Regions from separate parts of the Homo sapiens genome. Here regions 1 and 3 are each linked to region 2. The links are contacts of gene promoters, found by promoter capture Hi-C in human tissues and cell types (Jung and others, 2019). All regions are on one chromosome and are shown on one strand. The core of a region is centred on a gene start or on the middle of the fragment in contact, and the rest is flanking DNA. Distances in the headings are between cores, read along the strand shown. Region 1 overlaps ULK2 (unc-51 like autophagy activating kinase 2). Region 2 holds the start of ALDH3A1 (aldehyde dehydrogenase 3 family member A1). Region 3 overlaps SLC47A2 (solute carrier family 47 member 2).

What was found. Contacts are between HindIII fragments. The study calls those that stand out against the background at their distance.
Region 1: a fragment that was not itself captured here is called in contact with the fragment with the promoter of ALDH3A1 in region 2 in 4 of the 25 tissues and cell types used here (bladder, mesendoderm cells, pancreas and 1 more).
Region 3: a contact is called between a fragment that was not itself captured here and the fragment with the promoter of ALDH3A1 in region 2, in 3 of the 25 tissues and cell types used here (heart right ventricle, liver and spleen).

Annotation. Positions count from the first base shown.
Region 1 is chr17:19,781,175-19,784,160 of GRCh38, forward strand. It overlaps ULK2 (unc-51 like autophagy activating kinase 2), which reads right to left. Exons shown (of 27, transcript NM_014683.4): 22 at 2,523-2,731; 23 at 715-893. Among named protein-coding and RNA genes, the nearest start is that of ALDH3A1, 34 kb to the left of the region's middle. The HindIII fragment of the contact is 9,613 bases long and covers 1-2,986 here.
Region 2 is chr17:19,747,006-19,749,761 of GRCh38, forward strand. It overlaps ALDH3A1 (aldehyde dehydrogenase 3 family member A1), which reads right to left and starts at 1,293. Exons shown (of 11, transcript NM_000691.5): 1 at 1,254-1,293. The HindIII fragment of the contact is 25,713 bases long and covers 1-2,756 here.
Region 3 is chr17:19,693,559-19,696,530 of GRCh38, forward strand. All of the region lies in intron 13 of SLC47A2 (solute carrier family 47 member 2), which reads right to left. Among named protein-coding and RNA genes, the nearest start is that of SLC47A2, 22 kb to the right of the region's middle. The HindIII fragment of the contact is 3,834 bases long and covers 1-2,972 here.

The DNA of each region.
Region 1 (2,986 bases), core at 466-2,965, 35 kb after region 2:
GTCACCATTAAAATTGCCTTTCTATAAAGGAATAGCATCCTCTTTGATTTCTTTTCTTCTTTCTTTTCTTTTTTTTTTTTTTTTTTTGACAGAGTCTTGCTCTGTCCCCCAGGCCGAAGTATAGTGGCTTGATCTTGGCTTACTGCAGCCTCTACTTCCTGGGCTCAAGGGATCCTCCCACCTCAGCCTCCCGAATATTAATAGTTGGGACCACAGGGACGCACCACCATGCCCGGCTAATTTTTGTATTTTTTGTAGAGACAGGGATTCATCATATTGCCCAGGCTGGTCTCGAACCCATGGGCTCAAGCAATCCTTCTGCCCCATCCTCCCAAAGTGCTGGAATTACATATAGGCATAAGCTACTGCGACCAGCCCTCCTTAATTTCTTAATGCACAAGTAAACTCTCAAGGGACAAGGCATAGTTAAAGATGTGTGTACTGTGAAAATAACGGATACACTCAGATAAAAATCAATACAATCTATTTACACAAAAGAACTTCAACAGTATAATTTACAAGGAAAGGCAACACTGAGGTTGCATAATCTCCAGGTCTTGGCTCATATAGTGAAATGTAGTACAAAGAAATAATTGAGACTCCTAGCTTTTAATAATGAGATATGATCTTCAGTGGATGACAATACCTACAACTTAGACACAAGTTTAGACAAAGCATGAAAAGTCTGGAAATGAATGACAAGGGGGCACCCACCCCCAGTCTTTGCTCAGCTGACTGATCTGGTCCACCACCACACTCTCCTGGATCTGGTACAAGGACACAGCAGATGTGCACAGCTCAGGGTTTCCTCCCCTCATGGCTGTCAGGTCCAGCACACACTCAGTGAACATCAGCATCACATTCAGATGGCGTAAGGTGTCTGTGTGTTCCCGCTGCAGCAAAGTCAATTTGTCTTAGAAAATTTCAGATTAAAAATACGTACATACTCATTTCTGTACATAAACCATGGCCGCTGATCATGTTTTCTATACTTATGAGTATCAGAATGACAAAAGGAGATTGAAATTTTTAAATTTCAGAAAGCTGGTAAGAAAATGAACACAAATGAAACCAAATATAGGTATATGCATGTGTTTGTGTATGTGTATCAGAGTACCCACATAAGTAAACTCAGGATGGGTCGCTGTGCTTTTACCAGAAAAAGAAAAGAAAGCTGAACGATTAAATCAATATACATGAGACAAAAACGTGACAAGGTAGACACAAAGATTACAAGGATACTATAGGTGCTAAATCACACTTCTTGATACTGTATTGAATTCTGCTGACTTCTTATAATTTCAGAGTTGCTTTATTTAATTTCTGGTCGTTTTTCAGTTAACAGTGATTACTAATACCAAAGCTCTAACTTTCTGTGATCTTTTCAGTTAGTTAAAGAGGGGAGTGTGGGTAGACATAACAGCATTCAGAGGGCTGTCATTTAAAAATGGGCATTCTAGGCCGGGCATGGTGGCTCATGCCTGTAATCCAAGCACTTTGGGAGGCCAAGGCGGGTGGATCACCTGAGGTCAGGAGTTTGAGACCAGCCTGGCCAACATGGCGAAATCCCGTCTCTACTAAAAATACAAAAATTAGCTGGGCGTGGTGGCATGTGCCTGTAGTCCCAGCTCCTCAGGAAGCTGAGGCAGGAGAGTGGCTTGAACCCAGGAGGTGGAAGTTAGAGTGAGCTGAGATCGCACCACTGCATTCCAACCTGGGTGACAGAGCAAGACTCTGTCTCAAATAAACAAACAAACAAACAAACAAATAAATAAATAAATAAATGGGTATTCTAGATTGTTGTTTTGAGATTTGTTTTTAGTTATAAATGCATTCTGAAATCTCAAGCCTAAAAGTTTCCCACTCTTTTATGGTTAAATAAAGATGAGAATCATTTTCCTAGTGACAGGAGAATAAGCCAATTGACTTCTAAAAGTCTCTCTGCTCTGTGACAGCATATTGCACTGTATGTTTCAATACACTGGAACATGCAATAGAATGTACTAGAATGCTCACGCCTGTAATCCTAGCACTTTGGGAGGCAGAGGTGGGCAGATCACAAGGTCAGGAGTTCGAGACCCGCCTGGCCAACATGGTGAAACCCCGTCTCTACTAAAAATACAAAAATTAGCCGGGCATGGTGGCGTGTGCCTGTAATCCCAGCTACTCGTGGGGGCTGAGGCAGGAGAATTGCTTGAACCCAGGAGGCAGAGGTGGGAGTGAGCCGAGATTGCACCACTGCACTCCAGCCTGGGTGACAGAGCAAGACTCTGTCTCAAAAAAAAAGAAAGAAAGAAAAACACAGAATCTATGTGTTTCTTCCTATAAACCAAAGCTTATTATGGATGAGTGTCACTGTCAATGTTAATTTAAAAAGACATCAGCAATACTTTTCAAACAGAAAAGGCACGTTAAAGAGAACATAACTTCCTAACTATTTAATGTATTTTGTTCTTGTCATCACTAGAATGTTCTCATATCAAATCAACATTACATTCACACCACTATAGTCTCTTTTCTACCTCCATCAGCGTCTCCTCCGGCAGTTCAGGGGCTTCAAAGGTGATGAGCCCCTCTAGGCTGGGGGGTGAAGCACCGTAAGGCACGTATCTCAGGCTGGGAGCTGCCTCTGCTCCTGGAGGGGAAGAGCCGAAGCCTGGGCCAGGCGGGGACCCCACGCACACGCGGCCACTCATGGCACAAAGAGAGCCCCCGGAGTTGCTGGGCCCCACTACAAGGAAACAGAGGATACATGGCAGTGTCCAGAGTTAGGGCTTTCACACCCACTCCTACTCTTATTTACTAAACAAACCTGCTGAGGTGACAAAGGAAAGTTTCGTTAAAAGAAACTCACTGACCCCCTATGTACTATTTGAGGATATTAATAGTTTTTACTTATCCATGTTCATTGTTATTCCTTGTCTATATATTTTATATTAGACATCATCAGAGCTAGTTTTTTTATACTCTGTTTTAAACAAATTTA
Region 2 (2,756 bases), core at 43-2,542:
CTGCCCCACAGAGGGGCCACTGTTACCAGTTCCTTACTCCCCTTCCTGAGATACTCAGCCCACTTGCAGACCCGGCATAACTTTTAACATCAGCAGAAATAGGGTATTTCCATTTTTTTAAAAAACCCTATATATCATATGTAATATATAATTATATTGTATATAGATATATGGTCCTGCCTACATTCCAGCGAGTGGCTTCCAATCCTTCCTCTGCCTCCCCTCCCCATAGGCTGACCCCTAATCCCAGGCTTTCTGCACAGGGAGGAGGGACCTGCTGGCATTGAGGGTGCTCTAAGCCTGGCCCTTCCATGGTCCCTCCCTATGTTCTGATAGGAGGCTGGGAAAGCCCCCTCACTGGGACCTCCTCAGTCCCATGGGCCAGGCCCCTCCTGCTGACCACAACCCAGGAGAGAAGGTCCCGCTTCTCTCCCGAGCCTTGTACGGTCAAACCAAGGCAGGCAGCCCAGGTGGGAAGAGCCTGGTGAGCGTGGGACGGGATTGGCCTTGCACCCCAGCATCGCCACTTGGAACTGTGGTCTCTGGGCTGGACGGCCTTCCCAGGACTTCCCCGAGAGACAGGTTAACAAAGGTGCCACTTCACAGAGATGAGTGGACACCATCACGTCGCAGCTGCACCCAAATGGGAGCTGCTGCAGCATGCACTGGGGGCCTCCCCAGAGCCCGTCGCCTCACACCCCACATTCCTGCACCCCGCTCCTCTCACCTGTGCCAGTGTTGACTTTGCCCCCCAGTGACACCTCCTCCCCTCCTCATTGCCTTCCATCCTCACAAAAGCTCTGTAGTGATGCCCATGAAGAAGAAACGGTTATGAGTGCATTTTACAGATGAGGAAAGGGAGACTGAGAAACGTTTAATGCTGTATCTGATCTCACAGTTAGCAGGTGGCATGTCAGGGTTTGAACCCACATGCATCTCTGTCAGCAGCTCATGCCTTTAGCACTCGGCTCTGCTGCCTTCCTTCCAGTCATGGAGTCTGACGGCCCATCAGGGCCTCTCACTCCACGGCCACCTTGGTGTCCCTGCTCCGCGGATCCCTGGGACCTCTGCCTCCTGGTTTGGGGGATGGCAGAGCTGCCAGAGGTCCAGGAGGATGCTCCAGAGATGATGGTCCCAGAGGCAGGGACCCCCTGGAGAGATGATGTAGGACTCTTGACACTTAGGGCCCCGGCTCTGAGTGCAGACTCCACCTAGACAAGAGAAAAAATAAGGAATGCAGGGAAGAGGATTACCTTTGACACAGCCTCTCCCGGTAACTGGGGCTCCTGGAACGGCAAGAGCCAAGAGGGGACGTATTTAAGGACCCTGCTTCCCGTCCATTGAGCCCTTGGAGTTCCTGCCCAGGAAGTTTGCGTGACAAGAAAAAAAAATATTCAAATGTGGGGTGTGGCGTCCTCTGGACCTCTGCTCCCTACAGCCCAGGTTTTGGGGATTAGGTCCCGGGCTGTTTGCTTTTGTTCACTTCTGAAATGCGAGAATGTTTCTGAAGGCTTGGGCAGGGCACATCTCCAATCTTCAAAAGAGCCTATGTTTGCCCTGGGCGTGGGGGCTGCTGATTGATTCAGCCTGGCATGGAGCTCTTCCAGCTTTCCAGACTTGCCGCTGCCAGATGCGGTTCTCTGAGTTCTCTGGTTACATAAGATCGGCAGGGCTCAGCCACGAACCACAGTGAGAGCATGCAGCTCCCCCGAAACGCACCCCCAGCCACCGCTGCCCCGGGCCCTTCACATCCCCCAGTGTGCACAGGGCCCCATTGAGTCAGAGATCCTAACCCTGGGGAGCCACAGGCTGGGGACTTTTGATGGGGGTCTCCAATCCATAAATCTGCTCTCTCGTTGAATAGCTGAGAAGAGGGCCAAGGGTCTGTGTGGTCACCGAAAACCAGAGATGCTTGGGAAGGAAGGAGTCTGGAAAAGCCGTTCCCACGCTGTCTGATCAATGTTCGCTGGGCTCCTGCTCTGCACCACGCTGTGGGGAGGAGGCAGGTGTGGAACAGACTCTCGGCCCCTCTCACCAGGCGCTTCCCGCCACCCTCACCCGCCTGCAGGCAGACTGCTTACCAGCATGGGGTCCCTGCTTCCCATTTCATTCGAGGAAAACACAAGGTTCCGGTCCTGGCCTACGAGTCCTGAGGATGTGCTCTGGCCCTCCTGCTTCTCTCCACCTGGAGCCCCCTTCCCCTACATCCACCCACACGGCTACGCTCCAATGTGCTGTGGAAAATAGCACAATGCTGTCGTCTTCCTCCATTATTTTTTCTCTGGAGCGTTTATATCTTGTTTGCTACCTGTCCCTTAACTCCTGACAGCTAGAATTTGATTTGTTCACTGCTGTAACCTCCATACAGCATTTATAGTAGATGCTCAATAAATATTTATTGACTGACAAAATAAACAGGAAATTTCAAAATAATGTGAACACTGTAGTAACCAGGTAGGCAGAGGATGCTAGAGGGGCTGGGGTGAGAGTCCGTGGGAGGGAACATCATCTGAGCTGAGTGAGAAGCATTTGGGCAAGGAACAGCAAGGGGGCTGGAAGAGCAGAAGCAAAGGCACAGAGGCTGGGAACGTTATGTCACGAAAAAGTGCGATGTGTCCACTGTTGCCAGCAGGAGGTGTGGAGGTGAATGACTCTCCTGGGGCGGGGGCTCACGGAGGCCTGTGGGCCAGGCTGGCTGTGGGGGTGCAGGGCGCTGAGGAGATTATCAGACAGACAAATGTCTGCTATTTTTTGTT
Region 3 (2,972 bases), core at 144-2,643, 53 kb before region 2:
GGTCAGGAGTTGGAGACCACCCTGGCCAATGGTGAAACCCCGTCTCTACTAAAAATAATAATAATAATAATAATAATAAATAAATAAAAATTAGCCAGGCACGGAGTTGCGTGCCTGTAGTCCCAGCTACTTGGGAGGCTGAGGCAGGAGACTCGCTTGAACTTGGGAGGCGGAGCTTGCAGTGAGCCAAGATCGCGCCATTGCTCTCTAGCCTGGGCGACAGAGCGAGACTCCGTCTCAGAACAAAACAAAACAACATTGTATTGGAGGTTCTCCCCAAATTGGAAAGCAGAAGTAAAAGTGTCTATTCACAGATGACATGATCCTACATGTAGAAAATCTTAAGGAGCTCAGACACACAAACTATTAGAACAAGGTCACAGGATAAAGGATCAATAATCAAAAAATCAATTGATTTTTTATAAACATGAACAATCTAAAATGAAATTAAGAAAACAATTTCATTCACAGTAGCATCCAAAGAATAAAATTCTTTGGGATAAATTTAACAAAAGAAGTATAAGATTTGTCCATTGAAGACTATAAAACATTGCCGAGATAAAGAAGTTCTAAATAACTAGAGACATTCTGTGCCCATGGATTGGAGGCCTCAATATTGTTAAGATGACAGTTCTGTCCAAATTGATCTATAGATTCAACACAATTCTTTTCAAAATCTCAGCATGCTTTTTAGTAGGAATTGATAAGCTGATTCTAAAATACATACAAAAATGCAAAGGACCTAAAAGAGTCAAAAGAGTTTGGGGACAGAAAAGAACAGTTGGTATATTAATAGTACCTGATTACAAAACTCCCTGTAAAGCTACAGTAATTAAGACTGTCACAATGGCATAGCATAGACATAAATCAATGGAACGGAATTGTGAATTCAGAAGTAAACCACTACATTTATGGTCAGTTGATTTTCAACTGTGTTTCCAAGAAACTTAGTACTGGAGAAATGAGTCTTTCATGTGCTAACAAATGGTGCCAGGACAATTGGATATCCATATGTAAAAAATGAATTTAAACCCTTACCTCATATTATACACAAAAATGAACTAAAAATGGATCAGAGGCCAGGCGCTGTGGCTCACACCTGTAATCCCAGCACTTTGGGAGGCCAAGGCGGGTGGATCACGAGGTCAGGAATTCGAAACCAGCCTGGCCAACATGGTGAAACCCCATCTCTACTAAAAATACAAAAATTAGCCGGACGAGGTGGCACACACCTGTAGTCCCAGCTACTCAGGAGGCTGAGGCAGAAGAATCGCTTGAACCCGGGAGGCAGAGGTTGCAGTGAGCCCAGATTGTGCCACTGCACTCCAGCCCGGGTAAAAGAGCAAGACTCCATCTCAAAAAAAAAAAAAAAAGGATCATAAACCTAAATGTAAGAAAGACTTAACATTAAAACTTTTTAAAGAAAACAGAGGAGAAAATCTTTGTGACCTTGGGTTAGGCAGAGTTCTTATATATAAAATAGCAAAAGCATGAGCCATAAAAGAAATTAAGAAATTGGACTACATTGAAAGTGAAAACTTTTGCAACTCAAAAGATACCATTAAGAAAATGATTCAGTTAGACAGGAAGAAAAAGTTTAAGAGACCTACTGTACAACATGTTAACTATTGTATACTTGAAAATTGGTAATAGTATATTTTAAATGTTCTCACCACAAGAAAATTAGAATTATGTAAGGTAATGCATATGTTAATTAGCTTGATTTAGCCATTTCACAATGTCTAAACATAGTGAAATGTTTACATATATACAAACATAGTGGCTGGGTGCATTGGCTCATGCCTGTAATCCCAGCACTTTGGGAGGCTGAGGTGGGAGAATGGTCTGAGCCCAGGAGTTCTGTAGTGAGCTATGATGGTGCCAACTGCACTCCAGCCTGGGCAACAGAGTGAGACCTGTCTTAAAAAAAAAACAAAGAACAAAAAAAAAAAACAGCAAAAAAAAAAAAAAGAAAAAATGTATACCATAAATATATTTATCTGTGAATTTAAAAAATAAAATTTAATTTAAAAAGATAAGCCACAGCCTGGGTTTGCAAATCATAAAGCTTGATAAAGGACTTGTATCCAGAATATATAAAGAACTCTTATAACTAATAATAAATGTTATGGGTTGAATTGTGTCTCCCACAAAAGATACTGAAATTCCTTTTTTTTTTTTTAAGGTGGAGTTTCGCTCTTGTCATCTAGGCTGGTGTGTAATGGCACAACCTTGGCTCACTACAACTTCCACCTCCCAGGTTCAAGCAATTTTCCTGCCTCAGCCTCCTGAGTAGCTGGGATTACAGGTGTGTGCCATCACGCCCAGCTAATTTTTGTATTATTAGTAGAGATGGGGGTTTCACCATTTTGGCCAGGCTGGTCTTGAACTCCTGACCTCAGGTGATCTGCCACCTCAGCCTCCCTAAGTGCTGCGATTACAGGTGTGAGCCACTGTGTCTGGCCAAAAGATGTTGAAATTCTAACTCTCAGTACCTGTGAATGTTACCTTATTTGGAAATAAGGCCTTTGCTGATGATCAAGTTAAGATGGAGTCATTAAGGTAGGCCCTAATCCAATATGACTGGTGTCCTTATTAAAAGAGGGAATTTGGGCCTGGTGCGGTGGCTCACACCTGTAATCCCAGCACTTTGGGAGGCCGAGGTGGGCAGATCATGAGATCAGGAGATCAAGACCATCCTGGCCAACATGGTGAAACCCCATTTCTACTAAAATACAAAAAAAAAAAAAAAAATTAGCCAGGCAGAGTGGTGCGCACCTGTAGTCCCAGCTACTTGGGAGGCTGAGGCAGGAGAATTGCTTGAACCCAGGAGGTGGAGGTTGCAGTAAGGCCAGATTGCAGTACTGCACTCCAGCCTGGCAACATAGCAAGACTCCATCTCAAAAAAAAAAAAAAAAAATAGAGAGAATTTGGACAGAGACAGACATGGAAGGAAGACTTGAAGAGACAGG